2 separate regions of the Homo sapiens genome follow, and region 2 is linked to region 1. Evidence: promoter capture Hi-C in 16 types of primary human blood cells and fetal thymus (Javierre and others, 2016). All regions are on one chromosome and are shown on one strand. The core of a region is centred on a gene start or on the middle of the fragment in contact, and the rest is flanking DNA. Distances in the headings are between cores, read along the strand shown.

Evidence for each region. The method cuts DNA at HindIII sites, captures the fragments that hold promoters and counts their contacts. A CHiCAGO score of 5 or more calls a contact.
Region 2: a fragment that was not itself captured here is called in contact with the fragment with the promoter of TEDDM1 in region 1 in 1 of 17 cell types (naive CD8 T cells); the score reaches 5.2 in naive CD8 T cells.

Annotation. Positions count from the first base shown.
Region 1 is chr1:182,399,082-182,402,028 of GRCh38, forward strand. It overlaps TEDDM1 (transmembrane epididymal protein 1), which reads right to left and starts at 1,586. Exons shown (of 1, transcript NM_172000.4): 1 at 1-1,586. The coding sequence starts at 1,404. The coding sequence ends at 583. The HindIII fragment of the contact is 8,350 bases long and covers 1-2,947 here.
Region 2 is chr1:181,493,232-181,496,358 of GRCh38, forward strand. The region is part of intron 1 of CACNA1E (calcium voltage-gated channel subunit alpha1 E); the gene reads left to right. Among named protein-coding and RNA genes, the nearest start is that of CACNA1E, 11 kb to the left of the region's middle. The HindIII fragment of the contact is 1,401 bases long and covers 587-1,987 here.

The DNA.
Region 1 (2,947 bases), core at 336-2,835:
TGAGAAGTCTTTATTCCCTCAGGTAAAAGGCAATCCCTTGTGCCTGATGACGCTAATGACAGCATAACTGCTAGACTCTGTTCTCCTCCCTTCACAGCTCTTCCTTTTGTTGCATTCTCTTCCCCCAGTGGCTTTTCTTGCACACTAAGAAGAAGTGTTCTCCTCGTCCTTTTCCCTCCCTCCCGCAAATCCCATCAGCGTCTCTTTCTCAATCCCTCTCCCCTTATCTTCTCAGTAATTAGAGGCTCAGGGACAGAAAATGCACCAGCACGGGCATGGTGGCAGGCTCCTGTAATTGCAGCTACTCGGGAGGCTGAGGCAGGAGAATCGCTTGAACTCGGGAGGCGGAGGTTGCACTGAGCTGAGATTGTGCCATTGCACTCCAGGCTGGGCAACAGAGCGAGACTCTGTCTCAAAAAAAAAAAAAAAGAAAAGAGAAGAAAAGAAAATGAACCAGCAGACGGGACCAACTGCTAGCCTTCAAGGCCATTACCTTTACCAAGGAGGGTACCATGCTCGTGGCTGAGGAGCCAACAGGAGGAAGATGAGGTGGACGATGTGCCAGCCACTGTAGGCCCTGTCTCAGGGGGAGCTCTTTGGAAGGAGGAGAGCCTGGTCCTCTTTCTCTGACTGCTCCACTTCCTGTAGCAACTTGTAGAGGGGTCCTGGAGTGCTTGCATAATATGGAGCTTCTTTGGGCCCAGTCAGCTTCAAGCTGGGTCTGAAACAATGATACCAAAAGGAAGAGAAGCCATAGATTCCCAACAGGAATGAGGCATTGATCATCACATGCCAGCAGAAGAAGGTGGTGACAAACATGATGTCACTGATGTCATCGTCCTGCCATGGGTAGCCAGAGACGGGTCTGTATAGAATAAAGCCTGCCTGCATCAGCCAGGAGCCCATCATCAGAATCAGAAAGGTCTCCATCAGCTGGAGATGACACATGTTGGGAGCCCACAGCTCTGCAGTCAACACCAGCAACAGCAGGAACACCACCAAGATGAGCAGAGAATAAACGTGCAGCTCCACCCCTTCTGAATCTTTAACATGTGACACCATCAGCAGCAGGAGCTCGTAGATGATCAGGACCAGGGTACCTTTTTCTAGGCCCACACACCTCTGAGGCAGCACATTCTTGCTCATGAAGTCCACACAGCCATTAAGAGTGAGGAGGATGAACATGGTGAGGTGCTGCCACTCTTTGGGGTACATGAACCTTGATGGCACTTGCTTCCTCATGAGCACCATCCCGCCATCAAGACAGAGAACCACATAAAATGTTAAGAGGGAGCCAGTCACTATCTTTAGTAATCCTCCATAGGCTATTTTCCACAGCCTGGCACATCTTTGCTTATTCCTGGGAGAGCACAAAGGATACAGGAGACAACCTTTGAGTATCATGCCCTTGGAGACCACTGTGGCCTGATATAGTCCATAAGAGAAAAGAAATAGCCCCAGTTAAAAATGGCCAATGGACTTTCCCATGGAATACAGGCCTGTCCGACTGAAGCGTGAAGAGCAATACTCAGGACCTCTCTGCTCTCCTCTCCCTCACAGGCCTCTCGAGTTCTGGGCCTATATATACAGAGCTAAGTTCTACCTACTTTTATCATCTCCTTCTGCCCACTGCTCTCTCACAGACTGGAAAGTTCTGGACAGGAGCCTAGGTTTTTAGTGAGGTGGGTCTCATTGTTCCATTTCATTCCAGTACACTGGGAACTAATTGAGTTCTGCCAAAGTAGAAACATAAATATTTTTTAGTATGCACCTGTGGGAATTTGTGCTCTCAGGAGCTCTGCTTTTGGACCCTTGAGGACCTTCTGGTTACACTTGTCCCTCTCTCTCATGGCTTGCTTCCTTCTGCCCCTGTTCAATGCTCGGAGTAGAAAAAGAGAGGTGCCTGAGCACGGAGATTATCCAGAGAAGACCCGGGTTACTCACAAACCTTAATGCATCCTTTAAGACTCCTTACTCGGACAGGCATGGTGGCTCAAGCCTGTAATCCCAGCACTTTGGGAGGCCAAGGCAGATCTCGAGGTCAGGAGTTCGAGATCAGCCTGGCCAACATGGTGAAATCCCATCTCCACTAAAAATACAAAAACTAGCTGGGCATGGTAAAGAGTGCCTGTAATCCCAGCCACTTGGAAGGCTGAGGCAGGAGAATTACTTGAACCCGGGAGGCGGATGTTGCAGTGGGCCAGGATCATCTCACTACACTCCAGCCTGGGTGACAGAGCGAGACTGTCTCAAAAAAAAAAAAGACTCCTTACTCATATGTTGGGTCATATACTGAGAGCAAATACATTCTTCCTAGACATAAAAGTTTATAAACGTTTGGATGTGTGCTCATATATATAGATACTGAGCTCTTGTCCTCTTCATTCTTCTGTAACAGTTTTTGGGGATCACAAAGAAAGCAGCTCAATTGCCCCAAATTATCTTTCCAAAGAACAGTAGATGAATGTAAAATGTCACCTTTTGAGATCAATTTTGGAATGTTAAGGTATAATTTTTTATTAAAATGCAGATATGTTGAGATAAGTAGATCCAACAAACTGCTTATATTTTAATGTGAATTAGGTCCTCAACTTTATTCTCTCTTTAATTATCATTTACTATGTGTCTAACACATATAGGCAGAAAGAGTTCTAAGCACTAGGTAGCAGCCAGCTGCATATGAGGGGTTGCATCCAAGGCAAGAGTCTTCATTTATTTATTTTTATTTCTATTTTTATTTTTATTTTTAGACAGTGTCTCGCTTTGTTGCCCAGGTTGCAGTGCAGTGGCTTGATGACGGCTCACTGCAGCCTCAACCTCCTGAGCTCAATCAATCCTCCTGCCTCAGCTGCTGAGTAGCTGGGACAACAGACATGAGCCACCACATCCAGCTATTTTTTGTAGAGATGAGGTCTCACTACATTGTCCATGCTGGGTCTCAAACTCC
Region 2 (3,127 bases), core at 37-2,536, 910 kb before region 1:
TGCTGGGCTATCAGGAGTAGTGATTCTCAACCAAATATCAAAGCCTTTATGAGCAAGTACGACAGGAACTTTATATGAAGGAACTAGAGAGATACGGTTGCACTGGGCTGTCAGCCAGGCTGCTATGAAAGAACACAAACATTCTAACCAAAGGGCATGAATTCAATACAGAAACTCTTTCTACATCACTGTGAAAGACGACTGTCAAGCTGGAATACCTCCAGTGACAGGGTGCTCTTCTGTTGTTAAAAAACTTAAGATATAGGAAGTGGAAATATTCCTCCTTATAGCTTCCATTTGTTCTTTCCCTTCCTGTTTTCTGTTTTGTAAAACAATATAGACTCAGTCTACTTCCTTTCACTTGACAATACTATGGCATTGAACAGCACAGTTGGTGGATTTTTGGTGATGATAGACATGGCTCTTGGCACATGTGGCCCTTAAGGACTTGATATGTGGCTAATGCGACTGAGAACTAAATTTTAAATTTTACTGACTTAATTTTAGTTAAGTTTAAATAGCCACATATGGCTAGTGGCTACTGTACAGGATGGCACAAGCAGAGGGAATACATGATGAGTCAGAAAGCTTAAGCTCCCCTTTGGTTCTGTCATTTGTTAGCCTTGTAACTGGGCAGGGTCTCCTTGGCTTGGTATGCAGGGCTTCTCATGAGCCACTCTGCACATTGCGCCAGCTTTCCTTGACCACTGTAATCACTGTCTCTCCAGCTGCTTCAGTGGCTGCTGATCCCTGAAGGCACCATCCTCTTCCAGGCCTCCGTGCCTTTGCACTTGCTGCTTTTCCACCTAGAATGAGTCTGGCTTTAAGATTGTACTCAGAGGTCACTTCCTCTGTGAAGCCTTCCTTGATTTCTCTTGGCCGAATAAGACCAGCTTCCTCCTTTGGGCTCTCATAGGGCACTTTATTTATTACTTTGTTGTATCACATACCACATAATTTTAGTATTGGTTTAAAATCCCTGCAAGGGAGGGGGGACGTTATCTAATTACCAGATAATAAGGCAATGCTTATTAACATCAGCATTTAACACATTAGTTTGAATTAAAATACTTTTTAAAGTGGTGTTTTTTTTTTTTTTTAAAGAAGTGGCATTCCGTTTCTGACTTGAGATAGTCAGCTAAAATCTCTGAATCTTTTTTTTTATATGAATTGATGACAGAGTTAGTTTTCTCTCACTCTGTTCTCATTCAGTTTAATTTTTGAATCTAGATTCAGGACTCTATGTTTATATCAAGTATATTTTATCTCCTTGCTTTTGCTCCAATGTTTATCCTGCAGAGATCCTTTTCAACTGAGAACAAAGAACTAACATTCATTGAGCATCTACCAAATTTCAGGCTCTACTTCAAACAAGTGTATTATCCACATTTTAAATATGGGGAAGCTGAAGCTAAAGAAGATTAAATCACTTGCCCAAGGTCACCACCGGTGAGCTTGAACAAGTGGTCCGAATCCAAAGTTTAAGTGATTTCTACACCGCACTGTCTATGGACTTTGCTGTTTCATGAGTGAGCTCCCCACCCTAAGTGCTATGTCATCTGCAGATTTATAAGCAAATACTTAATGCTTTCATTTGAGTAATTGATAAAAAATATATTTAGAATCAGGGACCCTCTTTCTGCTTATCATCAGTGTATTAGTCAGTGTGCGTTGACCGTTCAGCTTTTCTCAAGTATTCTGAACTGTGCTTTAGCCTACTGACATTTCTGTATTTTGTCTGTAAAAATATTGTACGCGATATTCTTGTCACATGCTTTACTGAAATCAGTACACACTTTCATGACTACTTCATGTCTATTTTAAGCAGGAGGTAGCATCTTGGTTTCTCCAAAGTCCACTTTAGGTATCATTTTCAGAGACTCAGACAATATTTTATTTCTTTCTTAGACAATAAAAGTGTTGTGTCCTAGATCTCAGGAGTTGAAGGGATATTAGATGTCATCTAGTCCAATGCCCAGTTGATGAAAGCTTCACCTTAGAGTTCAGGATTTACCAGTCTCTGCATGGAAGCTTTAGGGTATTAGGGGGTCGTTGTTAAAAATGACCTCTGGATTCAAATCTCAGTATCACCTCTGTCACTTTATAGCTGTGTGCCTCAGGCAACCTGCTTACCCTTGCAGTGCCTTGGATTTTTCAAATGTAAAACAGAGATAGTAATTTGCTTCTGGGGTGTATCATAGGATTTTTGTGAAGGTCAGATGAGATAATACATGCAAAGTGCTTGGAACAATGTTTGGCAAATAGTAAGCTGTGAATAAATCTTGGTTATTAGTATATGGTTAATTTCAGATACATAAACATTAAACTTCTGCAGCTATGTTTTCTCTTTCCAACAATGCTGTCCTACTTCCTCCTGGCTCTTACCAAGTTTCTAACCTGAGTGCTGCCAGATAATGTTTACGTGACCTTGCATTGGTTTCATCACCTCCCTGAGCCTCAGTGTCTTCAGATGTGAGGTGGAGGTCACTTTCCCTGCTTTGCCTGCCTTATAAGACTGTTGTGAGGTTAGCATTGGCTAATGTGTATGAAAGCCCTTTGCAAACATATTAGGTATTAGTATTAGTGTTAATGTTGATAGAATTTATAAATATATAACACTTATTGAACATTTACTATGTGTCAGAATACTGTGCTAAGTGCTGCCCATGAGTTATTGCATTGATTCTTCATGACAATCCTACAGAGATAGGCATTCTTGTTTTCTGTCTTTCATAGTTAGAAGGATTAAGGTGTGGAGAGGTTAACTCATTTCCCTGAGATCGCACAGTAAGAGCTGGAGGCCTGGATCAGAACTCGTGCTCTTAATCACTGAAGCTAAATAGTCTTTCCATAAGACTTTTTTTCTTCCTTCTCAAAGTTATTGGGTTTACACTTTTAAAAATAAAATTTAAAATATCTACATCAAAACCTGTTTCCTTTATATGTTTCTAATGCTGATTTTATACCAGTATTGTACCTAAGGACATATTTGGATTTACAATCAGAAAAAATATCTTCAGGAGCAATAATGATGCAGAATTTTCCCAGAAAGCTTTTGATAAAAACAGATAGGATACTTAAAATGATCTATAACCTTAACAGACTCACTTGATTTTGTCTTTGAACA